Linked DNA regions of Homo sapiens: region 2 is linked to region 1. Evidence: promoter capture Hi-C in 16 types of primary human blood cells and fetal thymus (Javierre and others, 2016). All regions are on one chromosome and are shown on one strand. The core of a region is centred on a gene start or on the middle of the fragment in contact, and the rest is flanking DNA. Distances in the headings are between cores, read along the strand shown. Region 1 holds the start of SLC39A12 (solute carrier family 39 member 12). Region 2 overlaps CACNB2 (calcium voltage-gated channel auxiliary subunit beta 2).

Region 1 (5,483 bases), core at 1,138-3,637:
GACTCTAACTTCAGTTAATCTCAGCACAGAGCTCACAAGACACAAGCCAAGTTCCTTTCCTTGACAGTTAAGCCCAACTGTTCCCTGAGGGCTTATTACAGAGAACCCTGGGCTGGGTGCAGTGGCTCACGCTTGTAATCCCAGCACTTTGGGAGGCCTAGGTGGGTGGATCACCTGAGGTCAGGAGTTCGAGACCAGCCTAGCCACCATTAAATGGCGAAACCCTGTCTCTACTAAAAATACAAAAAAATTAGCCAGGTGTGCTGGCACTTGCCTGTAATCCCAGCTATTCAGGAAGCTGAGGCAGGAGAATCACTTGAACCCAGGTGGTGGAGGTTGCAGTGAGCCAAGATCATGCCACTGCACTCATGCCTGGGTGACAGAGTGAGACTCCATCTAAAAAAAAAAAAGCCTGAAATTTTCTAGGAATATTTGCCTTTCGTATTTCCATCCGTGTTACTGTGTCCGGAATTGGTGGGTTCTTGGTCTCACTGACTTCAAGAATGAAGCCATGGACCCTTGCGGTGAGTGTTACAGTTCTTAAAGATCGTGTGTCTGCAGTTTGTTCCTTCAGATGTTCAGATATGTCCGGAGTTTCTTCCTTCTGGTGGGTTCGTGGTCTCGCTGACTTCAGGAGTGAAGCTGCAGACCTTCGCGGTGAGTGTTATAGCTCTTAAAGGCAGCACGTCTGGAGTTGTTTGTTCCTTCTGGTGGGTTCATGGTCTTGCTGGCTTCAGGAGTGAAGCTGCAGACCTTCCCGGTGAGTGTGACAGCTCATAAAGGTGGCATGGACCCAAAGAGTGAGCAGCAGCAAGATTTATTGCGAGGAGTGAAAGAACAAAGCTTCCACAGCATAGAAAGGGACCTGAGCTGGTTGCCGCTGCTGGCTGGGGTGGCCTGCTTTTCTTCCCTTATCTGGCCCCACCCACGTCCTGCTGATTGGTCCATTTTACAGAGAGCTGATTGGTCATTTTGACAAAGTGCTGATTGGTGCGTTTACAAACCTTTAGCTACACACAGAGTGCTGATTGGTGTGCTTACAATCCTTTAGCTAGACACAAACGTTCTCCAAGTCCCCACCAGATTAGCTAGACACAGAGCGCTGATTGGTGCTTTTACAATCCTTTAGCTAGACAGAAAAGTTCTCCAAGTCCCCACCATCCCAGAAGCCCAGCTGGCTTCACCTCTCACTGGCACTAGCCACGGGACTTTGTGGCACCTATCCGGAGCACCTAGCCCGGGCACTCCAGCAGCCTAGAGGGAGCTCGTCCCAGACAATCAAGAGCAAAAGACGGGAAGCAAGAAAGAGATGGAGACCCGCCATCGTGGCCAACGTTCTGGTCCACGCACGGGATTCAGCCTCTGATCAAGCCCCAGTTCCCGCCCACGCCTCTCCCTCCACACCTCCCGGCAAGCAGAGGGAGCCGGCTCCGGCCTCGGCCAGCCCCAGAGAGGGTCCCCCACAGCGCAGCGGCGGGCTGAAGGGCTCCTTGAAGACGGAGAGAGCTGAAGCTGAGGCTGAGGAGGCGCCAAGAGCGAGCCAGGGCTGCTAGCAAGTTGTCATCTCTCATTACTAGCATTCTCTCAGGAATATCCTACCGCAGGGTTCCCGTGTTTCATATACAATTAGTGATGAGGCTAATCATCCTGATCTCAAATTTCCTCTACCTGCCCACCAGCTGACTTAAACCCCTATACTGTGGGCATGCATTCTGCCCACTCTGAAATCTTAGGATTTAACTTCTCTTGCTTCCTAGAAAATGAACCACTTTGTTCCTTTAGTCATTTATTCACTAATAATTTGTTGAGAGGTTTTGTTTTGAGGAGCATGAAGGATCTGATGTAAGAACTACCACCGGTGCTGGTGATCACAATATATGCAGCTGATTAAAGTTCCTCATTTATGCTACCTACATCCCTGGTAAGAATTTCATTCCTTCAACCAATACTTTTCATTTGAAAGCATCTCATTACGAAAGACTTCAATCTTTTAGGCTTCTGCATCTTGCAAAACAAATATGGTTCCAAAGAGCCTATCTTTTCAACAAATCTTTGGTTTGAGCCTGGATGAAACAGTTATTACAGAATCAACTGGAGAGGAAAAAATCTTCATCTAACACTGAAGTCTTTCTATTCTGCGAGGTGAAATCCTTTGACCTAGATTCTGTCCCTTGAAAGGCAAGTGACAGTAGGTGAGCCTAAGAAAATTGGTTAATTCTTGATCTAAAAAGTTAAATTCATGAACCACACTGATTTGATTACCTTGAAAATCTACCAGACAGAAAGTTCTCCCTTTTATCCACCTTCATTGTTACCTTCAGAGCAGCTCTCTCCATAGCAACTGAAAACTTTTCTGGGCTGAAATAATCCTCTCTAGCTCCCAGTGCACAGTCAAAGAATTTTAAAAACAGGGAACTTTGTAACTGTGAAATACTCTCCAGGATTTAAAAGGCTGTGGAGCTCCAGATAAAGAATCGTTTATCTTTCTTCTGAAGGTAAGCACTGGGGTTAGAAATGCTTGCATCATCCTCTGTCACTTTTAAATTGCTAACATAACAACCTTAAAGTGTTGTTGTTGTTTTTAACTCATAAAAGTAATCCCAGTACCTTTGTTACTAGCCCACAGTCATTTACCAGCTCATCTCTGGGCCAGGATCGGACATGAGATGCTGTTAACATTTTACATGCCTTAAGCCATCAACAGAAAGATAATTTTTTTTTCCAGGAAGTTGATTGGCTCTAAAGTCATCCCCCACTCCTTTAGTCACCACTGAGTGAGTGTGTGTGTGTGTGTGTGTCATGTTCTTGAGGTCTCGAAATTCTGTTTTTCTAAGATGCTTCCTGCTCTAGAATCTTGATTCTTAGTAAACTAAAAAAAAGACCTGTGTTTTCTGAACATTACTATTTTCTTCTAGTGCTTTTCCTTGTCTAAAACTCTTTTTTTTTCTTTTTTCTTTTTTCTTTTTTTTTTTTTTGAGATGGAGTCTTGTTCTGTCGCCCAGGCTGGAGTGCAGTGGCACGATCTTGGCTCACTGCAACCCCCGCCTCCCGGGTTCAAGCAATTCTTCTGCCTCAGCCTCCCATGTAACTGGGACTACAGGCACGTGCCACCATACCTGGCTAATTTTTGTATTTTCAGTAGAGACGGGGGTGTCACCATATTGGCCAGGCTGGTCTCAAACTCCTGACCTCGTGATCTGCCTGCTTCAGCCTCCCAAAGTGCTGGGATTACTGGTGTGAGCTACCGCGCCTGGCCTAAAACTTTTAAACTCAACATGATGTTGGTCATTTAGTAGAATTTATTTTCTCTTTTTCATGAGGACCATGAATCACTTGGAGTTCTTTATAATGGGATAAACATAAGGTGTTTCCCAACCTGGGTCCTATAACTTGTACCACCTGTTGGTAAATGGAGAAACTTACGTGACGCTATGTTTAGTTTAGGGAGAGAGAATCTAGCAAGCTTTTTGGCTGCTGTGCAGTTTGAAAGTCTACAGCCATGGTGCTTTCCTGCCATTTGGGGTTAGAAATTACCTACAGACCCCCGCTGTGTAGAAACAGCTTGTCATTGCAAATCAGCTTAGCCACCCAATTAATGAATCCTTTCAAACATGTTGCAGGCACAATAATTGAAGGCTTTATTTTTCCCCTTTACCACAGAAATTCCTTTGGTTACAAGTTTACCCCATAAACGGCAACACACTCACCTCCATCCAAGACAGACTCAAGGTGGAGGAAGCGTGGAAATGTGCTTCCGGACAAAGCTCTCAGTATCCTGGGTGCCATTGTTTCTTCTACTCAGCCGTGTTTTTTCTACTGAGACAGACAAACCCTCAGCCCAGGATAGCAGAAGCCGTGGGAGTTCAGGCCAACCGGCAGACCTGCTACAGGTTCTCTCTGCTGGTGACCACCCACCCCACAACCACTCAAGAAGCCTCATCAAAACATTGTTGGAGAAAACTGGGTGCCCACGGAGGAGAAACGGAATGCAAGGAGATTGCAATCTGGTTAGTGAAATAGAATGGGGTCAGGTATCAGGGCATGTCCAAAAGAAAGCAATGGATTCTATAGGGATTTATTTCAGTAAAGCAAAATCACAGGCAAATCTTCCAATATGCAATTGAGCAATGCATTCTGGTAAAATAATTTCCATATTTGGGATACAGCAAATCAGCATTCTATGTATAGCACCTAGGGACATTTTTGTTGTTGAAAGGATGATGTTTATGTAAGGCTTTCTAGAACCCTTCTGCATATTTAGAGGCATTTATTTGTGAGCGCGAACTTTTAGTCCTCTTTTCTGATTGACTAATCTTTTCTTAAAGCCTTCAGTGCACTTGCACGTGACTAGTTTTAGTTGCTATTTGTTTGCTGGAGCATAATGCGATCTGATATTTGCCCAACATTGGGTTTTTGAGTACTTTTTCCTGGCATGGTATTTTCTAATATTATGCATGGCGGGTAGTTAATGATTGGATAATCATCTTAACGATGAGGAATCTGAGCTGGGGAGACAGATGCTGCAGGTGGAGCTGAAGTCGCACCCATGGCTCCTGAGGCCTGAGTCACAGCCTGATCTTAGCCTACAAAGCGAATCTCAACCCTGATTGGAATCAGCTGCATAGGTTTCCCAGCATACCCATGTTTAGGTGTCATCCTCTAGAGACTGAGATTTTACTTGCCTGGGATAGAACTTTTAAAAGTCTCTCCAGGTTATTATTTATTTTATTTTATTTATTGTGAGACAGAGTCTCGCCCTGTTGCCCAGGCTGGAGTGCAATGGCATAATCTTGGTTCACTGCAACCTCCACCTCGTGGGTGCAAGTGATTCTCCTGCCTCAGCCTCCCAAGTAGCTGGGATTACAGGCACCCACCACCACGGCCGGCTAATTTTTTTGTATCTTTAGTAGAGATGGGGTTTCACCATGTTGGCCAGGCTGGTCTCAAACTCCTGACCTCGTGATCTGCCTGCCGCCACCTCCCAAAGTGCTGGGATTACAGGTGTGAGCCACGGCGCCCGGCCTCCAGGTCACTTTAATATGACGTCAGTGATGTCTAAGAATTTATTCATTAGGGAGGGTGGGGTAGGATGGAAGGAGGTGAGAACTCATGTGTTTAAATGACTACAAAAGAAAAAATAAAACCTACTCCACCATCCCATTCCTGACCCACGAGATTTTTTAGGACGAACCCATAAATACATAAATGAAAGCATACATAAATAAGTAAAACAAAAGCTAACAACCGTCTCCAAAATACATTTTGGCAGACTTTCTCAATCATGCAGAGGCGAGGGAGGGAGGGGAGGGGAACATTTTCTGACCAAGTGTTTTGTTTTTTCATAACAGAAGAGTTCTTGCTCATAGAGAATTTTTCTCTGCTTTGTGTGAGCAATAAATAATTCAATAATTATTAAAATACCCAATGGTTCCCAGAGGAAATGTGTTATAATAGGCAACTCATCTGTGATGACATTAATATAT
Region 2 (5,575 bases), core at 1,736-4,235, 270 kb after region 1:
GTTAGAGAGGCTCAGAGAAGAGGGAGGAGAGAAGGGCAGGGGGCAGCCAGGCCACTTTATGCCTTTGGTAAGAGGTTCTTTTGAAAGGTATTCATCTTTTTCCTCGAATCTTAAGAATTTTCAAAACTTGACACCTGCTTCCATTCTAGCGTGACTATATAAATTCGTTCCAAAGGCAATAGCAGTACTGTTGATTGTGTCATGGAACAATATGGGAGTTCAGAATTGACTGTTACTCATACAAACACTCACATCTGCTAATTCCTGGACCTATTACTGTTCTTTCAGAATTCATTACATAGTTCACAAGTCTCAGTTTAAAAAAAGCACCAGGCATGGTGGCTCATGCTGGTCATGCCAGCACTTTGGGAGGCTGAAGCAAGAGGATCACTTGAGGCCAGGAGTTCGAGACCAGCCTGGCCAACATGGTGAAGCCCTGTCTCTACTAAGAATACAAAAGTTAGCTGGATGTGGTGCCTCTTGCTTGTAGTCCCAGCTCCTTGGGAGGCTGGGGTGGGAGGACTGCTTAAACCTGGGAGGTGAAGGTTGCAGTGAGCTGAGATTGCGCCACTGCACTCCAGCCTGGGCAACAGAGCGAGACTGTCTCAAAAAATAAAAGTAAAAAATGAAAACCTTTGTGTTCATGAGCACTGAAAACCATTTTAAAAGACCTTTATAAATTCATTGCAAAAGAAGTAAAATGTTTGAAAATCATATCTTTCTCTCCTCTAGTATAGTTTTCTTTTTATCCATGGAAACCAATCCAGAATTTTGGAAGGCATTTTGTGTTCTGTCTTTATCAAAAGCTTGCAGTGTTTCCTTTTGGAAAGTAGCATTGGCCCAATTGGTATTGAGGTAGTTTCTCTTTATAGAAGTATTTCATCTACTACACAAAGGAGGGACCAGAGAATTAGGATTTCACCATTATGCAGTCCTAGAGATTGGCTGGCAAACTTGCCAAAGAAAGGCAGTGATATCAGTAGTTGCTAACGTTACAAGGAAAGGAAGAACCTGGCAGTGTGTATCCCTGGCAGGAGTACACAATACACCTGTGACGTGTCCTGCCACATTCACATCACAATCCGATCCAACCTCTAGATTGAAACAGCAGCCTACACTGGAATATGTTAAATGACCACATGCCGAGGCAGAACCCAGATTGTGTGAAATTCTGTAGGACAAATGACCAGTTTTCTTTTATGACCCCATTGCTAAGGGGACAATGGGAAGAAATGGGGAATCTGCAGAGGAAAGAAACATAAGACCCAGCAACCAGTTGCAATGTTTAGACCTTATTTGGATCCTGATTTAAACAAATGATTGAAAACACACACACATACACACACACACACACACACACAAATTCTGTGAGACCCTCTGCGAAATAAGAACACAGACTGGATGTTTGCTGATATTAAAGAGTTACTATTTTTTGTTTGTTTGTTTGCTTGTGATAATGGCTTTTGTTATTAGGTTCTATTTAAGTAGTACCGATCATTTAGAGATGCCTGCTGAGATATTCATGGATGACATGCAAAAACTGGCATTGGATTCAAAAGCACATTGAGCATAAAAGATGTGAAATGGCCAGGCACAGTGGCTAATGCCTGTAATCCCAGCACTTTGGGAGGCCGAGGTGAGTGGATCGTCTGAGTTCAGGAGTTCAAGACCAGCCTGGCCAACATGGTAAAACCCTGTCTCTACTAAAAATACAAAAAGCAGTTGGGCGTGGTGGTGGACGCCTGTAATCCCAGCTACTTGGGAGGCTGAGGCAGGAGAATTTCTTGAACCCAGGAGGCGGAGGTTGCAGTGAGCTGAGATTGCGCCATTGCACTCCAGCCTGGGCGACAGAGTGAGACTCCATCTCAAAAAGAAAAATAAAAGATGTGAAACTTGCCTCAAAAGTAAGCTTTCATTCCTTTGTTAACTTTGTTGCTTTGAGTGTTCTGTGTGTTACATAAATGACTCAAAAATCCCATCTGACACAACTCCAGAAGGCTTTCTGGTTTGCTGTCAGTCATGGGCATATTTATGGGCATGACACACACACAGATGAGCCATTTAAATAGGATTTTGAGCATTGCTAATTTTGCTTCAGAAAGATTTGTTTGATTTTGATGCCTTTTGCTTAATCCCTACATATCTGGTCTTCAAATATGAACTATTAAATCATATATCCAACACCTTCTATATATGTAATACTGAATATTAATAATTGGCATAAATAATTACAACTCCACAGCACTGCAGAAGAGAATGTCATTAAAGAGGCTAGTCAGTAATATACATCCAGCCAATGTTTGTTGAATGAATAAATGAAATTTCATTTAGCATATTTAATTTTTGTGAAAGCAAAAGAGTATTACACTACTAATACATTCCTCTTGTTCCATGAATAATTATTGATTATTTAATGTATTTTACACGATTTTCAGGAGCAATCGTTATAGTAAAAATGTAGTAGTTTTTAATACTTATGCAGAAAAGCACATAAAACAGAATGCTCCTATGTTCCCTTCTTTTTACATTAGGAAACATTTTTTTCTTTATTTAAAAATGAAATTTTTCAGTATAAACTATTATATGGTAACTAACAAAACATTTAAAAGTACTACAGTCTTTTTCTTTCATCACCAGATACAACCACTATTAATATTTTAATTTCCTTTTTAGTTTTTAAAAATAAAGCTGTAATAATATTAAGGAGAATTTTTGTCTTCAATTTCAGAGACAGAATCCTATTGCAGAAATTTTATTTTTAAATTTTCCCTTTGTGTTGCTTTTCCCCCCAATAAAACAGAAACTGCTAGGCTCTTAGAAAATGGGAACTCTTCCATCTAGTGAAATATGTACAGAAAAATAGATAATAGGCAGCCTACCCCTTCTACTAACATATCACTGCATCTTAAACTAAGGGGTCTATTTTTTTTTTTTGTCCTGGGAAAAGTGGACTCATTTTCATATCTAGAATTAATGAGGTTTAGTTTGATAAGGACTGCTTTTAGGTGGCCCTAGAGATGAGTAATAAGGACAAATTAGATATAAAATAAAATATTACTCTTTTGCAATGTTTGCTTTTCCTAAACCTCTTAGCGAAAGTCTCTGCTGTTTCTTGTCTTTTTTGGCTAGAATGGTTTCTAGGACTATGAACAACTGCTTTAAACACAGCAAACTTTCTAACTCCTTTTTATCAGGCTTAAATATGATTAAGACCTACCTTCCGTGTGCCTTCTCCCTCCTCTTCCCTCCCTCTTTCAACTTCTCCCTTCAAAAAAAAAAAAATTCCAATTTCTTTGTAGTCTCAAAGCTCAGCTGATATGAAATCGATTTTGGGAAGTGAGTTTCATACAAAATTAAAGGAAATCCATTTTATTGAAGAAAATTACCCGGCTCCTTAAAGTTCCTCATTTTGTAGCTACTTTATACTTTCCAAAGAATTTCTTTCTCTAACCCACGAAGGGTTGGGACAGATGCTCATATTCTCATTTTACCCCAAGTTAGTTAGCAACTTGGATCAGGTTAAGAAGCTCGTTCTGATAGAACCTGGATGAGAACCTGGGCCCCCTAGTCTCCTGTGTCAGAGAGTAGGAGGTTATGCTTGGGAACAGAAGGCCTACGTCCCACAACCATGACCAGCCCAGCGTTTGTGGGAGTTCAGTCCAATATAGAATCACTCTTTCAAGGTAATAACTTTACTGCGGGCTTTTACGGCCTGCCGAGCCAAATCGAAGTCATGCCATCTCCAGATTGCAGGAGCAGAAACAGGTTAAAGGGCCTCAGTCCTCCCTTAAGGTGGCCTAAGCTCCGCCTCCTCCCTGCTACATCCTGACAGGCACATTCATCTATACCTCAGCCTGTCAATTTCCACTCCCTTTTTCAGGATGAGCCTAGTGTGGACACCAAGGTGTCCGCGTGTTTCGCTCTCTATGGCCCTTGTTCTTTTCTGATGTCAGCCAGCCCTCTGTTTGCTCAAGGCCAAGGCTACATAATTACTTAGCATGGACATTTCATTTCCTTCATTTTATGTGACCTGCTGTTTCTCAGGCTTTTGGCTGCACATAATAAGCTTTTTTTTTTTAAAGTGATCTATTGTATTTTTCCATGTTCTGTTGAGCTGGGAGGAGTCGGCAGAACCTTTTTAATATCAGATATTACAAAATCCCTGGCAGAGGATGGGGGATGGGGGAGGGTAAAGCCTGGAGAGACAGGGCTAAGCAGCTTAAAAACCACACCACTCACTTCCAGTTTATTAAGTCCCTACTTGATGCAAACTTTTCGTAGGTCACCTCAAAATATTACAACAGCCTTTCATGATAAATATTAGATGCCCCATTTTACAATGTAAGAAACTGAGGGTTTAAGAAATATGGCCTGGGTCCAGGACTGAACCAGGATTCGTGACACCACAGGCAGGCTCTGTGTTAGTCTTCATTCAAATAATTTTCTCTCTCTCTTTTCTTTTCTTTTTCTTTCTTTTCTTTCTTTTCCCTCCCTCCCTCCCTCCCTCGCTCCTTCCTTCCTTCCTTCCTTCCTTTCTTCCGTCGTTTCTTCCTTCCTTCCTTTCTTTCTTTTCCTTTCTTTCATCTTTTTGGCAGGGTCTCCCTCTGTCACCCAGGCTAGAGTGCAGTGGTGCCATCATAGCTCACGGCAACCTCCACCTCCCGGGCTCTAATGATCTTCCCACCTCAGTCACCCTAGTAGCTGGAACTACAGATGTGCACCATCACACCTGGATAAGTTTTTAAATTTTTGTAGAAATGGGGTCCCACTATGTTGCTCAGGCTGGTCTCCAGCTCCTGGGCTTAAGTGATCCTCCTGCCTCAGCCTTCCAAAGCACTGGGATTACAGGTGTGAAGCACTGGACCTGGCCTAATTTTCAAATATTAAAGACATGTTCTTAGTGGAGGGCAGGCTAGCATGATGAGAGATGCTTTTTTTTAATTTTCTTTTCTTTTCTTTTCTTTTTTTTTTTCTTGAGACAGGGTCTTGCTGTGTAGCCCGGGCTGGAGTGCTGTGGTGTGATCTAGGCTTACTGCAACCTCCGCCTCCTGGGCTGAAGTGATCCTCCCACCTCATCCTCCCTGGTAGCTGGGACTACAGGTGTGTGCCACCATGCCTGGCTAATTTTTGTATTTTTGGTAGCGAAGAGGTTTTGCCATGTTGCCCAGGCTAATTTCGAACTCCTGAGCTCAAGTGATCCATTCACCTCAGCCTCCCAGAGTACTGGGATTACAGGTGTGAGCCACCGCCCCCAGACGGATGGTTTTAAGTTTCTATTGACTGGCATCGGCTACTTCAGCAGAAGCTGGATCCATAATGCATTTTGTTAGCTTTGTAAGAGTTACAGTGAGATCTGAGTTAACTATTCCTTTTCCCAAATTACCCTAGTGATGTTTTAATGCTCCTTATAAACCAGTCCCCTGCTGTGGTTCCTTCATTTGGTATGACCCCAGGCTACACAGCCAGTAAGAGGCAGAGATGGGGATTTAAAACCTGATCTTCCTGTTTGTTGCTTCTACGATCTGCCGGCACTTCTTGAGATTCATGAGCGTGTGGCCGTATGATCACTAATGAA

The links. Contacts are between HindIII fragments. The CHiCAGO score rates a contact against its expected background, and 5 or more counts as called.
Region 2: a fragment that was not itself captured here is called in contact with the fragment with the promoter of SLC39A12 in region 1 in 1 of 17 cell types (M2 macrophages); the score reaches 5.5 in M2 macrophages.

The regions. Positions count from the first base shown.
Region 1 is chr10:17,949,531-17,955,013 of GRCh38, forward strand. It overlaps SLC39A12 (solute carrier family 39 member 12), which reads left to right and starts at 2,388. Exons shown (of 13, transcript NM_001145195.2): 1 at 2,388-2,495; 2 at 3,661-4,007. The coding sequence starts at 3,747. The HindIII fragment of the contact is 2,620 bases long and covers 842-3,461 here.
Region 2 is chr10:18,221,070-18,226,644 of GRCh38, forward strand. The region is part of intron 2 of CACNB2 (calcium voltage-gated channel auxiliary subunit beta 2); the gene reads left to right. Among named protein-coding and RNA genes, the nearest start is that of CACNB2-AS2, 38 kb to the right of the region's middle. The HindIII fragment of the contact is 2,157 bases long and covers 1,908-4,064 here.